2 separate regions of the Homo sapiens genome follow, and region 1 is linked to region 2. The links are contacts of gene promoters, found by promoter capture Hi-C in human tissues and cell types (Jung and others, 2019). All regions are on one chromosome and are shown on one strand. The core of a region is centred on a gene start or on the middle of the fragment in contact, and the rest is flanking DNA. Distances in the headings are between cores, read along the strand shown.

Evidence for each region. The method cuts DNA at HindIII sites, captures the fragments that hold promoters and counts their contacts. A contact is called where the count stands out against the background at its distance.
Region 1: a contact is called between a fragment that was not itself captured here and the fragment with the promoter of LGI3 in region 2, in 1 of the 25 tissues and cell types used here (liver).

Annotation. Positions count from the first base shown.
Region 1 is chr8:22,408,525-22,415,514 of GRCh38, reverse strand. SLC39A14 (solute carrier family 39 member 14) reads right to left here. Exons shown (of 9, transcript NM_001128431.4): 4 at 3,309-3,478; 5 at 613-735. Among named protein-coding and RNA genes, the nearest start is that of PPP3CC, 29 kb to the left of the region's middle. The HindIII fragment of the contact is 4,546 bases long and covers 24-4,569 here.
Region 2 is chr8:22,154,475-22,160,517 of GRCh38, reverse strand. LGI3 (leucine rich repeat LGI family member 3) reads left to right here and starts at 3,712. Exons shown (of 8, transcript NM_139278.4): 1 at 3,712-4,181; 2 at 5,055-5,126; 3 at 5,887-5,958. The coding sequence starts at 3,976. It also overlaps a transcript of SFTPC not described here. RefSeq lists a cis regulatory region at 3,607 and an enhancer at 3,535-3,679. The HindIII fragment of the contact is 9,171 bases long and covers 2,798-6,043 here.

The DNA.
Region 1 (6,990 bases), core at 1,047-3,546, 260 kb before region 2:
AGAGCAGCCTGGGCAACGAAGCGAGACCCCGTTTCTAATATCTATATATATAAATCTGCACCAAGTGCGAAGGACCTGGTGTCAGACAGATATCAAAGCTGTCTCCTCGGGGTACATGCTTATTCCACCAAGGCAGCCACTGCTCAAATATTTAGAGCTCCTCTTTTGCAATGGCTAATCTCACTCAATTCAGCAGCTATTTAGGGAATAACTGCATGCCAGCCACTAAAGATATCTTTTTGAAACTGTACTATAATAGTCCTGTTTCTCTGCAGCCTCATACTTCATACAGAATGAATGCATGGTATCAAGCTCTTCTCCCCATCCTGTAAAGATACAAATATATTAAGGAAATAATCTTAGAACAAAACAAAGGGGATAAACTACTGCTTAGTAGAAGGCACCCTGGCCAGATCTAGTTTCTGGTCTGGCCTCACTTCTGGCCAAATATCCTCAGGAGGTGAAATGGGATTGTCTCCTCAAGAAATTAGAGTTTCACGGAAATTGTGATATTGGGCTAAGACCATCACCACCACCACCACAATACATCAACATTGTTTGAGATGGGTGTTTTCCCTAGAAGAGCTTTCTTCAGCAACAATTGGGCCTCACCTCATTTTTCTGCTTAAGAAGAATCTTCAAGATCTTCTCTGTGAAAAAGAAAAGATAAAAGCCCCCAAACACCACTGCAGACTTGGAGACATAATAATCTTCCAGAGGGTTGAAACCAAATGCCTGTGGACCCAGGAAAAGAAAATGAGTTTTAAAGAAAATAAAGCATCTTTACTGATCCCCCTCTTATCTCTTAACTACTTCCTTGACTCTAGGAAAGGAGAGAGGCATAATGGAGTAACTCTGCCGTCTACCCATCCTCTTTCCAGCAAAAATCTAGTCCTTGGTGTTTCCCTGATGTGACATCACTAAACCTGCCAGGTTCTTCTCAAGCTTATTTGCTGATGCAAAAGACTGATCATCTGTAGAATTTTAATCCCAGAAAGAAAAACCTCCGATATGGTTTTCCACTTTTGATTTATCTTGGTGCTTTGCTATGAAGGCATTCTCTGCCAATAGATTTCATATTGAAGGAGCAGACACTTGTATTTATTTTCATCTTATCTAGTGTTCCTGGCTGACCTGCCTGTAAACACAAAGGGAGATGGTGTAATTATACTTTCTAAAACGGGAAACCCATTTCCCAGTTAAGTAATAAGAACTGCAGCGTTTTCCTAACCGCAGACCTCCCAGTGACCACAGAACCAAGAAAGTGGACTGTGTTATTGCGAGCGTCAATTTTTGGGTTTTGTTTTGAGTCCTTTCTGAAACTGTCACTTATCAAAGAGGGAGGGGAGAATCCACTGGGAAGAGGACAGGAGTAGAAATCAAGAGAATTCTGTCCTAGGGTAAGCTCCTGATTTATGGTGGGTTCTTGTGAATGTGTCTAATGACCTGGCCGGGCACGGTGGCTCATGCACTTTAAAGGACCGAGGTGGGTGGATCACTTGAGGCCAGGAGTTTTGAGACCAGCCTGGCCAACATGGCGAAACCCCAACTCTACTAAAAAAAAAAATACAAAAATTAGCTGGGCCTGGTGGCACACCTGTAATCCCAGCTACTCGGGAGTGTGAGGCAGGAGAATGGCTTGAACCCAGGAGGCAGAGATTGCAGTGAGCCGAGATGGCACCACTGCACTCCAGTCTGGGTGACAGAGTGAGACTGTCTCAAAAACAAACAAAAAAAAGTATCTAACGACTTGCTCCTATTTTATTCTTAAATTTTTTTGTGGGTACATAGGAAGTATATATATTTACCGGGTTGTTCCTCCATTTTCTGATGGGAAACGGGCCTTGAATAAACTTCAGCCCTCTCATGAATTGGTCCAAAATAAAAGTTGATCCCAACTTCAAGGAACTCTGGGCTGTTTGTTGCCTTTATGTTTTAAACAGGCCAAATTGAATCACCACCCTCCAGGGAAACAACACTTTCATGTTGACTTTCCAGGGGAGTCGAATCATCTTGGGGGAAAAGTGAAGTGAAAATAGGCAACGAACACTTCTCTGCAAAAAGCCACAAAGGATGGTGAATACAGAATCATGGGGTTGAGCTTCAGAAATCCCAAAAGCTGGGTTCTCGACTCAGGGATATGCGCTCTTGTGCAGGTCAGATTCCAACGTGGTAAAACGTTACTTGTTCTATCGATGCCATGGAGTTAACCTAAGGATCCACTAGGAGGGAGCCAACTGACATTTCAGAAAACACCAAGTGTTGTAAGAGGCGCATGCAGTCATCTCTGCTTCAACTGCGGCTCTGTCCAGGCCTGCGAGACCACCCACAGGGAGACGTCCTGTGCTTATTGTAATTAATGGGTCTGCTGAGGGGATTACACCAAATTAGATGAACCATCAGCTCCTTCTTTTGTGGCAAGTTTTCTCATGAACTTATTAGGCAAAGGTACCATCAAGGTATATAAAACCAGACATTGTTTGACTTGCATTGCCTTTGCCCCAAAACTCCCTATGGACAATCTTTTTACTGAGAACTGTGGGTTCTGATGATGTGGGAGTTTGTTTGTTTGTTTTGAGACGGAGTCTCACTCCCGTCACCCAGGCTGGAGTGCAGTGGTGCAATCTCGGCTCACTGCAGCCTCCATCTCCTGGGTTCAAGTGATTCTTGTGCCTCCCGAATAGCTGGGATTACAGGCGTGCGCTACCACGTCTGGCTAATTTTTGTGTTTTTAGTATAGACGGGGTTTCACCATGTTGGCCAGGCTGGTCTTGAACTCCTGACTTCAAACGATCCACCTGCCTCAGCCTCCCAAAGTGCTGGGAATATAGGTGTGAGCCACTGCACCCGGCTGATGATGTTTTTTAAACTTCTCTGCACCCAAAGCCTTAATCTGAGCACCACAACTAAGCCAGAGTGAGCTCGCTACACTGCATCTTTTCACCCCACATCAGACAGCACTTTCCGCACCAGGCACTCAGTGCTGCAGCAGACTCGCTCGTTCCACCCTCACAACATCATCCTGAGGCCGGTCTATTGCTCTCCCCATTTCACATCTGAAGAAACAGAGGCAGTGTGAGGTCAGTGGTGTGCCTGGGGTTACGGAACCTACTGATAGCAGAGCTGAGATTTGAACCCAGCTCTTCAGCCTATGCTGGGCTGCCTCTCCTAGTTCACGCCTAAGTTCTAGCTTCGCTTTCCAAAAGGAAAGGGCCTCCAGGTGCCCTCTCTATGCCTTCTATCCAAACGGAGGTCCTCCCACTGTGCCCGCCGGCATGCTCCGGGGTGAAGGCCCTGGCTTGCCATACCTCCGGGATGAGCTGGAAGAGGGCGTTGGAGTAGAGGGTTCCAATCGCCAGAGCTATGAAGTAGAGCAGCAGCCTCTTGTAAAAGGTCTTCTTCATGAAGGGCACCACGCTGGCCCCCAGGAGGGAGCAGAGGGAGATGACGGTCACACAGAGGAGACCGTATCCCCACACTGCCGTGCGGAGGGAGGGCCAGCCCCACCCAGGGCAGGGAGAGAAGGCACATGCCCCATTGCACAGCAACCACCATTTAGCGGGAGGAAGGTGGAGCAGATAGGGAGGTCGCAAGGAAAAGTTTGGTGGATATTAACGGAACAAAAAAGAAAAATCAGAGAGAGACAAGTAGGGAGGGAGAGAGAAATAGAAAATTTGTTAGTGATTCACATCTGATGAAATTTCCTTCAATCAGTTCAGAAGAAAGAGGAATTCAAGGTGGCCTTGGAACCCTGTGACTTCTGCCCCTGTGGCCACTGGTGGCCCCAAATCGTTCCTGCCAGTGGTGTGACTGGCAGGGCAGGGTGCTGCCTCGTCACACACCCAAGGTCTGCCCAGACCTATCACAGAGGCTGTCCAGGACAGACTTTGGACTCGAGGGCTCTCTTTATAGGACATGCAAGCAGGTGGAAAGAGGCTGATCACTCTGCTGCTGCGTTTGCTTTTGCATGTCCAATTCACACGGCGCAGGCTCGGGTGACACCACGACCACTTGGTTTGCTTTGTGCAAGACACAACCAAGCCAGATGTGCAGGGCAGAAGGGATGGAGAACGATTAATTCATGCCCAATGCCCATAAAATTCAGTGTCTTAACCTCTCAACTTCTTTGCTCATTTCCATGTGCTCTGAGAGGGGCTCAAGCACAAAGAACAGAGTTCCAGGAACACCCTGTCACAAAAATATTTCCTTGAACATTTCCCAGTTGTGACACTCTGTCCAGGCCCAAAAGAGGGCAAGACAGAACCAGACCAGGATGAGACACTCCCTGGCAGGCCACAGGGGTGGAGCACACACAATTACAGTATTTCCATTCCAGGAGGTCACAAGGCCTTTCATTTCAAATCTTTAAAAAATTAATATATTCCATTGCTGGAGCTGAAAAAATAGCCCAAGTTGAGGCCTCCCCTGCAAAGTGTTTGTCAGAGCCATGCAGAATTTTGAGATGGCACCAAGATGGTTCACATTCAACCAGGAAGAACAGGCAAGGCATGGCATCCCATCTGCTGTCTTTTCTGGGTGAGTCTTTTGACTGGGAAAGCCTGAGAAGCAGCTGACATGGGATCTTTGTGAAGGGCAGCATCCATGACTCCCTAATGGGGTCAACCACACGTCTGCGTATCCTCACCCTCCACAGCAGCATCCCTGCTTGAGCTAAAAAAGTGGGCAGACTGTCAACTTGGGCCTTATTTTTATAGCTCCTCTATGATAACAATTAAACAACAAAATTAACATTTCAAAACAGTCAAGTCAAGGTACCAGGAAGTCAGTCCTATCAGAAAAAAGTCAAGATGCAAGGTACAAAGGGCTGAGTGCCCCTTCCATTTATCTTGTCATTTTAATTTTGTTTGGTCTTAGTCTTTGTTCTGTGTTTGGCTCTCTATGCTAGAAACGATGGCCTGCTCAAAATTAAAGAACACTCGCTTTTTAGGCCAATTCTACATATCACTTGGTAACCTCTTTTCCTTCCATCTCATTCCAGATGGATAAGCTCTTGGTGCCCAGACCTGAGTACTGCCAGGATTTCTCCTTAGAATAGAGCAAGTACTTAGCACCAAAGGCATGGACGGCAGTCGATAGCTGCTGCTTTCCCTTGATGCCTTATGTATGGGGCTTAACAAGGGAGGGGAGACTGTCAAGTCCCCAGGAGGAGGGAAATTGGAAGAACCTTGCATCTGACAGCACCTGCAGAGGCCAGAGGAGTGAGAGGTGGGCCCTGAGATCCAGAGTTAGAAGTCGTTTGTGGCTTTGATACGAGGGACAGGTTCATTTCTCAGGTGGCAGTCATTGGGTGCCTTGGAGCCCAGGGTAGGGGAGGAGGGGATTGGCTCAGCTGTGCCGCCCCAGGGAAAGAGGACGCGCAAGTTTCTGTTCTACTGCACCTCTGGGATGAGCTGGAATAGCGCGTTAGACAGCAGCGTTCCAATGGACAGGGCGATGAAGTAAGTGAGCACACGGCTGAAAAACGCTTTCTCTGTGCAGGGCAGGACGAGGACTCCCAGGAGAGAGGCCAGGTTAATCAGTGAGACACTGAGAAAACCAAAGCCCCACACTGTGGAGGAACAAGAACAGACGAGGGCCTCTATTACTGAGGGTGGGGACACTCCTGCTGCCTGGGGCGGCCCTGTTCTGAATTCAGGTGTGATGGGGCAGACTGAGATCCACCAACCCATCAGTAAACATTTGCTGAGTCCATCTCTCACCAGATGCTGCGGAGAAGCCTAGGGAAACTATCAAAATTGCTATCCAAGAGAAACACCTTTTCCATGGAGAGACGGATGCAAACAGCAATGGAAGCCTAAAAACCATACAAGTAGGCCAGGTGCGGTGGCGCAAGCCTATAATCCCAGCACTTTGGGAGGCTGAGGAAGGTGGATCACCTGAGGTCAGGAGTTCGAGACCGGCCTGACTAACATGGTGAAACCCCATCTCTACTAAATACAAAAAATTAGCTGGGCGTGGTGGCGCGTGCCTGAAATCCCAGCTACTCAGGAGGCTGAGGCAGGAGAATCGCTTGAACCCAGGAGGCGGAGGTTGCAGTGAGCCGAGATTGCACCACCGCACTTCAGCCTGGGCAACAAGAGCGAAAGTCTGTCTCAAAACAAACAAACAAAAAAAACAAAAAAAGCCATACAAGTAAATAACGACAGCAGAAAACAGGGACTTGCAGTAACACAGACAGTATATTCCGGGTGCCGACACTCAGGCAGCACACGCCGGCCCTATGGGGCTTAGGGCTATCAGGGTGTACACTCACAGCTCGTGGCAAGCCCACTGTGGCTGGATCAGGGATACCGGGATAGGGAGGGGAAGAAGGATTCAGGGGCCAAGTGCAGCCTCCGGGAGGTCTTAAAGGAAAAACTATAAAACCAAAGTAGGCCAGGTATGGTGGCTCATGCCTGTGATCCCAGCACTTTGGGAGGCCGAGGCAGGAGGATCACTTGAGCCCAGGAGTTTGAGACCAGCCTGGGTAACATAGTGAGACCGTGTCTCTACAAAAAATTTAAAAATTAGCTGGGCATGGCGGTGCACGCCTGTAGTCCCAGCTACTCAGGAGGCTGAGGCAGGAGGGTCACTTCAGGCCAAAAGGTCAAGGCTGCAGTGAGCTATGATTGCACCACTGGACTCCAGCCTCGGAGACAGAGCGACATCCTATCTCAGAAAAAAAAAAAAAAAAGATTAAAAAAGCCAAAGGGTTGGGCCCCCGTGGTTCAACATGAAACAAAAAGCAGACCAAAAAGGGATCCATAGGCCGCTCAAGAAGTCCAACGCTCTGAACATTCGCCAGCTACGGCCCAGGAGTCTGACAATGTGCTAGGCCATCCTTGCAAAATACAAAAATTATCCATCCAATCATCGCTCCCGCTCCTGACACCGACAACCTCATCCTGGTCATCACTGGTGAGGCATTCAGTGAGGAGCAGCAGCAGCTCAGCCCAGGGGTCCTTGTGAGACGCGGGCGAGATGGGAGAT
Region 2 (6,043 bases), core at 2,463-4,962:
CACCTCAGCATCCCAAGTAGCTGGGACTACCAGTGCATGCCATTGTGCCCAGCTAATTTTTGCTTGTTTTATAGAGATGAGTTTTCACCATGTTGCCCAGGCTGGTCTCGAACTCCTGGGCTCAAGTGATCTCGGCCTCCTAAAGTGCTAGGATTACAGGTGTGAGCCACCATGCCCAACCAGCCTCCTGTCCTTTAACATGCCACCCCAGTTCCTGTCCCCTGCCCCAGCCCCCTCCCACCTGGGCCCTGCCCTTCGGTCATGAGCTGGCAGGTTCCCCTGTCCCCCTCTCCATCTGGAGGGCCTTCAGCCCCAAGGTTGCATAACAGCATGGCATCTGAACTGAGAGCCCCTGAGAAGCGCAGGGAGGAAGAAAGGGAGGGAAGTGTTTGCTCCCACCACCCTCCTCACCCCCTTGCTGCCCCTTTAAATATTTGCCTAAGACTCCAGCAGCCAGAGAGTGTCCTAGGACAGTGAAAGGAGGGGAGGGGTGCCGGGAGGAGGGGGAGCCCACAGAAGCATCCTCTCAGCTCGGCCTCAGCTGTGTGCAGGTGCCAGATGTGGGAGACAGCTCGCCTGCAGTGCCCACCCCTGCCCTCCCCCAGGGCCCTTACTCCCGCCCCCATCATCCTGGCAACATTGGGATTGATCGGCTGACTCACGAGTACTGGGCCTGAGCCAGGTGGGCAGCTGGCCAGCGGGAGAGCCAAGCACTGCAGGCATCTCGGGGTCCCTGTGGGCATCTCGGGGGGCCATGTTGTTCTCACGTGGGACTTGTTCTTAGCAGGCACTGTGGGTGGGGTTTGCCGCCATCGCTGGGTGCTGGGAGAGGGATCTCTTTCTTTGAAAAAGCCTCTGCTCTTTCTGGTCCTTGGTCTCCCCTGCCTGTTGCCCTTAGGCTGTAGCTGTCACAAGCTCTGTGGCGGCTGCTGCTGCTGCTTCTTCTCCTTCTTTTTTTAAACCCATTTTTGCTTGCTTGAGGGCTGAGGGAGGGTGCCTGCCTCCTGGAGTGCTCACACCAACCAAGTGAAGGTCTTGGGTTCCTTGGAGAAGGAGACACAGAAGGACCTTTAGCTGGGTGTGCCAAATTTCCCCCTCCCCCTACCAGCCCTGTCTGCAGCCTTCTCACTTTTTGGCCTGTACTTAAGCCGTTTCTCCCTCTGTGAAAGCCCACCTCCAATCCCTCTCCACTTCTCCGGTTTTATTTTTATTTTATTTATTTAATTATTTAGAGACAGGGTCTCACTCTGTTACCCAAGCTGCAGTGCAGTGGTGCAATCACAGCTTCATAGCTCACTGCAGCGTTGATCTCCTGGCCTCGTGTGATCCTCCTACCTTGGCCTTCCAAAGTGCTGAGATTACAGGCGTGAACAGTGCATCTGACCTTCCACCTCTCTGAATGCCACCCACCCAAACAGGCCAAGAGCCAATGGCACCTGCTCTGCGACCTCACTCCAGTTCATGGTGCCCTCTGAAATCCTCAGCCTCTCTGTGGCACCTTCACCTGCCATTCAGCACACATGAATGTTCCCATGAGTTACATGGGCGCTTTTTGTTGCTCTATCTTCCAGCCCAATTGCGGGCCCTGGGAAAGAAAGGAGCACGCTTCCTGCGGGCTTCTTTGAACCTGCCACTGGGCAGGAAGCATGCAAACAGCCAACACTTAATGATAGTCAATGATGAGACCAATACCAACAGCGGTCAATAGTCCATGCCTTCAGTATGTGGAGGTCTCAGTGCTTCCACTGGCCAGCTCTGGGACCCAGCGTGAGTCGTTCTGCTTTGTTAGGCATTAGTATGTTCATCTGTGAGATGGGTCAGGTACTAGCTGTCCACCTCACTATGCTATTATGAGGACCTAATAGCATCATGGGTGTGACATCCAGTCATCCTCATTAGCATCATCTACTTCATCCTCTAGGGGACCTCTCACTAGCTAAGAACACAGCCCAGACTCACCCTCTTTGTCTGTTTCTGGGTTGACTCCCTCTGAGAGCCCTGAGTGATGGACAGCCCCACGGTGGCCACCCCTTCTGTGTGGGCCTCCCCGTTTCCTCCTCCAGCCCCTCAGCTGCAGGGGTGGGGACAAGATTCACTTTGCTCTTTGTGTACTGGGCAGAGCCGTGCCAGGGACGGGTGGGGACAGTTGCCCAGCTGCCCCAGCCACCTCCCTACCCTCACTGCTTCCCTCCCCCCAAGCTGGCATGGGGAGGGCGGCTAAATGTGTGGCAGCAAGGAGACATCAAAGGGCAGGGGCATCCCTGGCTGGGAGAACACAACTTAAGCTCAGACCAGAGAATCCCCTGCTGGCAGAGTCTGGGGACAGCTGGGGAAGCATCTTAAAGCCAGTGGTCTTCGTTCCCTGGACTGGTGTGCAAAAAGCACAAGACTAGAAGCCCAGGCAGCTGACAGCCAGGCTCCCCTTGCCCCGTGCCTATGAGCTCTTAGGACAGTCATCCTCCGCCACAGGGGAGCTAACGTGGTAGAGAGCAGCAGTCTTCAAGCTTTTTGTTTTCAGGACCCCTTAACACTCTCAAAAAGTATTGAGGACCCCCAAGAGCTTTTGTTTATGTGGGATATGTCTGTTGATATTTACTGAGAAATTACATTTTTATTTACATGTGAATTTAAAATATCAGTAATAAACCCAATATAGGTTATGACATAAATCACATTTTTAATGGAAAAACGATTTTACAAAGCAAAATTATTTTACAAAGCAAAATAAAATTAGAGAGAAAGTGTCATTTCTTTACAGTTTTGGAAATCTTTTAAATTTGGAGCTTCATAGAAGTGAAAAGGGCAAATCATGTCTTAACAATATTAGGAAAATTGTTTTTACCTCAGAGACTTCCTGAAAGGTTCTCAAGGACCCCCGGGCTCCCAGGGCTACACTTGGAAGAGCCGTGCATGGAAGGACGACCGTGAACCTTGAAGCTGGGCAGAGTGGGCGGAAATCCCTGCTGATACCTTTTTCTTCTGGTGCGACAGGCCTCACTTTTCTTGTCTGTAAAAGGGAATTACTATCACCTGCCTCAAACGATTGAGAGGATTAAGTAGGGAAAGTACAGAGCACTTGCGATAGCAAGCTTAGGGGGCCTCAGTTTCCTCATTTGTTAGACAAAGGGCTGGACTGAAAAATATCCAAAGCGCTTCCCAGCTTTAACAGGCTGTGGTTGAGCGTGAGAAATGTTCCAGAATTCCACACAGTCCCACTCCAGCTCCAGAGGCTGCGTTTCCCTTTTCAGCTCATGCTGACACAAAGGTACATTCTGTTCAGCGGCGCGTGGAAAAACATGTGAATCCGGTTAGAAGCGCACTTCAGACTCCTCCAGGACGCCCTTGTGCTTCTAATCTTGCATGCTAACTTAGATATGCGTCTGTCACTCACGACATGCCCATGATGCTGCCTAGGGGATGTGTCCCCCCATGCAAAGAAACCCAGGTAGACAGAAGCACAGGGATCCCTAACGCCGAAGCGCCTCCACAAGGCAGTGAGTGCATGTGCCCGTGCAGAGACAGGTGAGCACCGGCGCGCACAGTCGTGCCCAGCAGAGGCACAAGCACAAGCTCACACGCATGCACTCACGCGCAGCCCCACACGCGGATGGCCCCAGAGACCGCCCGGTAGAGCACACAGCGGCCACGCCTCCCCTTCCGTGACTCCCAGGCCCCGCGCCGCCCCGCGCGCGCCCCCGCCGCCCGCGCCGCAGTCCGCAGCCACCCGGCGCGGTCAGCCCCGGCTGCGGCTCCAGCTCCGCGCTCCGCTCTTCTCTCCCGAGCCGGATCGCGGGAGCGAGCAGGGGAGGGGACCGCAGCCGGCGCCCGAGGGCAGGAGGAGTCCGCAGGCGGGCCCCTGGCTGCGGTAGCAGCTGCCGGTGGCAGGGAGGTGCCAGCCCGCGCGGGGTGGCCCAGCCGCGGGAGCGGTGGGGCGGGGGCCGCGGCCGCCGGCCCCAGGGAGAGATCGCGGGCAGCATGGCGGGGCTGCGGGCCAGGGGGGGCCCGGGGCCGGGGCTGCTGGCGCTCTCCGCGCTCGGCTTCTGCCTCATGCTGCAAGTCAGCGCTAAGAGGCCCCCCAAGACGCCCCCCTGCCCGCCCAGCTGCTCTTGCACCAGGGACACCGCCTTCTGCGTGGACTCAAAGGCGGTGCCCAGGAACCTGCCCTCGGAGGTCATCTCCCTGTGAGTGTCCAGCCCTGGCCTTGGGGGTTGGGGAGGGAGAGGAGGCCGAGGACAGCTCTGGGAGAGGACAGGAGAACCCCCGCTCCCCCTCTTCAGAGTGCGGGGACCAGGGGGACTGCAGGGGTCCTCAGGGCTGGAGATTCCAGGCACCAGTCGGGCAGGGAGTTCTGCAGTTTTGCAGGCTCAGCGGCCATGGGTGGGGAAAGCAGGAGTTCACCACCAAGAATGAATCATCATCACCACGAGCGACAGTGAGACCTACTGTGTGCTGTGCTCCAGACTTGGGGGGGTTGCTTACACGAGCATGTGGGCCCCTGCCTGTGATGTCACACCAAGGGCAGGAGAGTGGCGGCCAGAGCAGGATGAGAATGAGCTATGCCCTCCCAGCACCCTGGCATGGGGCACATGCCCGCCACTGACCAGCCACTTGGCACTCAGCTCGGCCAGCCTGTCACTCACAACAGCCAGCCTCAGGGGCTCCCCCTTGTCTGTGGGACCAGAGAGGTTGTGAGGTCCTTGGGGACCAGGATGCCAGCCCCCACCCCCATGCCCCATCTCTCAACAGCACCCAGCCCATTGTGGGTGTTTGGATGATGATGACAACGGTGTGGGTGATGGAACCTTTTCTTGCCTGAGAGGGAAGCTGAGCCTGGGGCCATGGGTGCCCCAAGAGGCAATAGGGGAGGACCCTGGTGAAGGCAGGCAGTGAATTTGGGAGGAGAAGGGAAAGACACACAGATGGGGGCTAAATTAGGTGAAATGGGGCATTTCCAGGGCAAGTGAGTACAAAAGCTACTGCCCTCCGTGTTCACCTCTCCCTGCCTCAGCACAGCCCTTGCAGACCCCACAGTACTGACTCGGGTGTCCCCGCAGGACCCTGGTGAATGCCGCCTTCTCAGAGATCCAGGATGGAGCGTTCTCCCACCTCCCGCTGCTGCAGTTCTTGTATGGATAGGGCCTTGTGGAAGGGTTGGGGGAACTATGGGGTGGTAGCAGGGGACAAATCCTGGGCTGGGGAGAGGGAGAGTGGACAGAGGCAGCCTCTGCAGACGAAGATGCAGGTGTCCCTTGCTTTTGTTCTGATAGGATGTACCCAAAAGACGGGGCAGCCTTGAGTCAGGGGAGTCGGGGCAGCAGGAGGACAGCTAGGGATGGCACAGAGAAGCCAAGCAAGTGGGATGCGGGGATGGGCTTGGCTGCTCTGGAAACCCCAGAGAATTGGGTGCGATAGCCTGGGCTAGTGCCCAAGGTGGGCACTGTGGGGCCATCTTAGAGACAGGTGATCCCAGGAATCAGAGTTCCCAGAAAGAGCTGGGGGCTGAAAGAAAGGGATGGCAGGAGTGTCTCCAACCCTACAAGATGCCGTCCATGAGGGACAGTTGTCCATGAGGGGCTGGAATGGGACAGAATGAGGGTGGGGGAGAGGGAGAGGAGATGCCACCCGGGAGGACCAGGAGCTGGCTTGACAAGAGAGCTCTGCCTTGGCCCATGTTTAGGATCCAACAGGGACCCTGGGAGCTTCTGGGGCCAGAACAGGCTCCTGCCTGGCCTTGTTGCCCAGGTGGCCCAGGGATTCCCCATGGGGTCCCCAGGGGTAGCAGCAGGGCAGTCATGTCTTGGGGAAGCCCAGGGCTGAGGCAGCGGGCTGGGGGCTGGGGCAGCAGGCACACCCTTGGAAGCTCTAATTCCACCTTTGTCTCTGCAGGTTACTCAACTCCAACAAGTTTACACTGATTGGAGACAACGCCTTCACAGGACTGTCGCACCTGCAGTATCTGTGTGTGGGAGGGAAAGGGGCAATGGGAAAGCAGAAGGGAGGGGGACCCCAGGCCTGGGAGGCCGAGGGACTGGGTAGGGAGTGG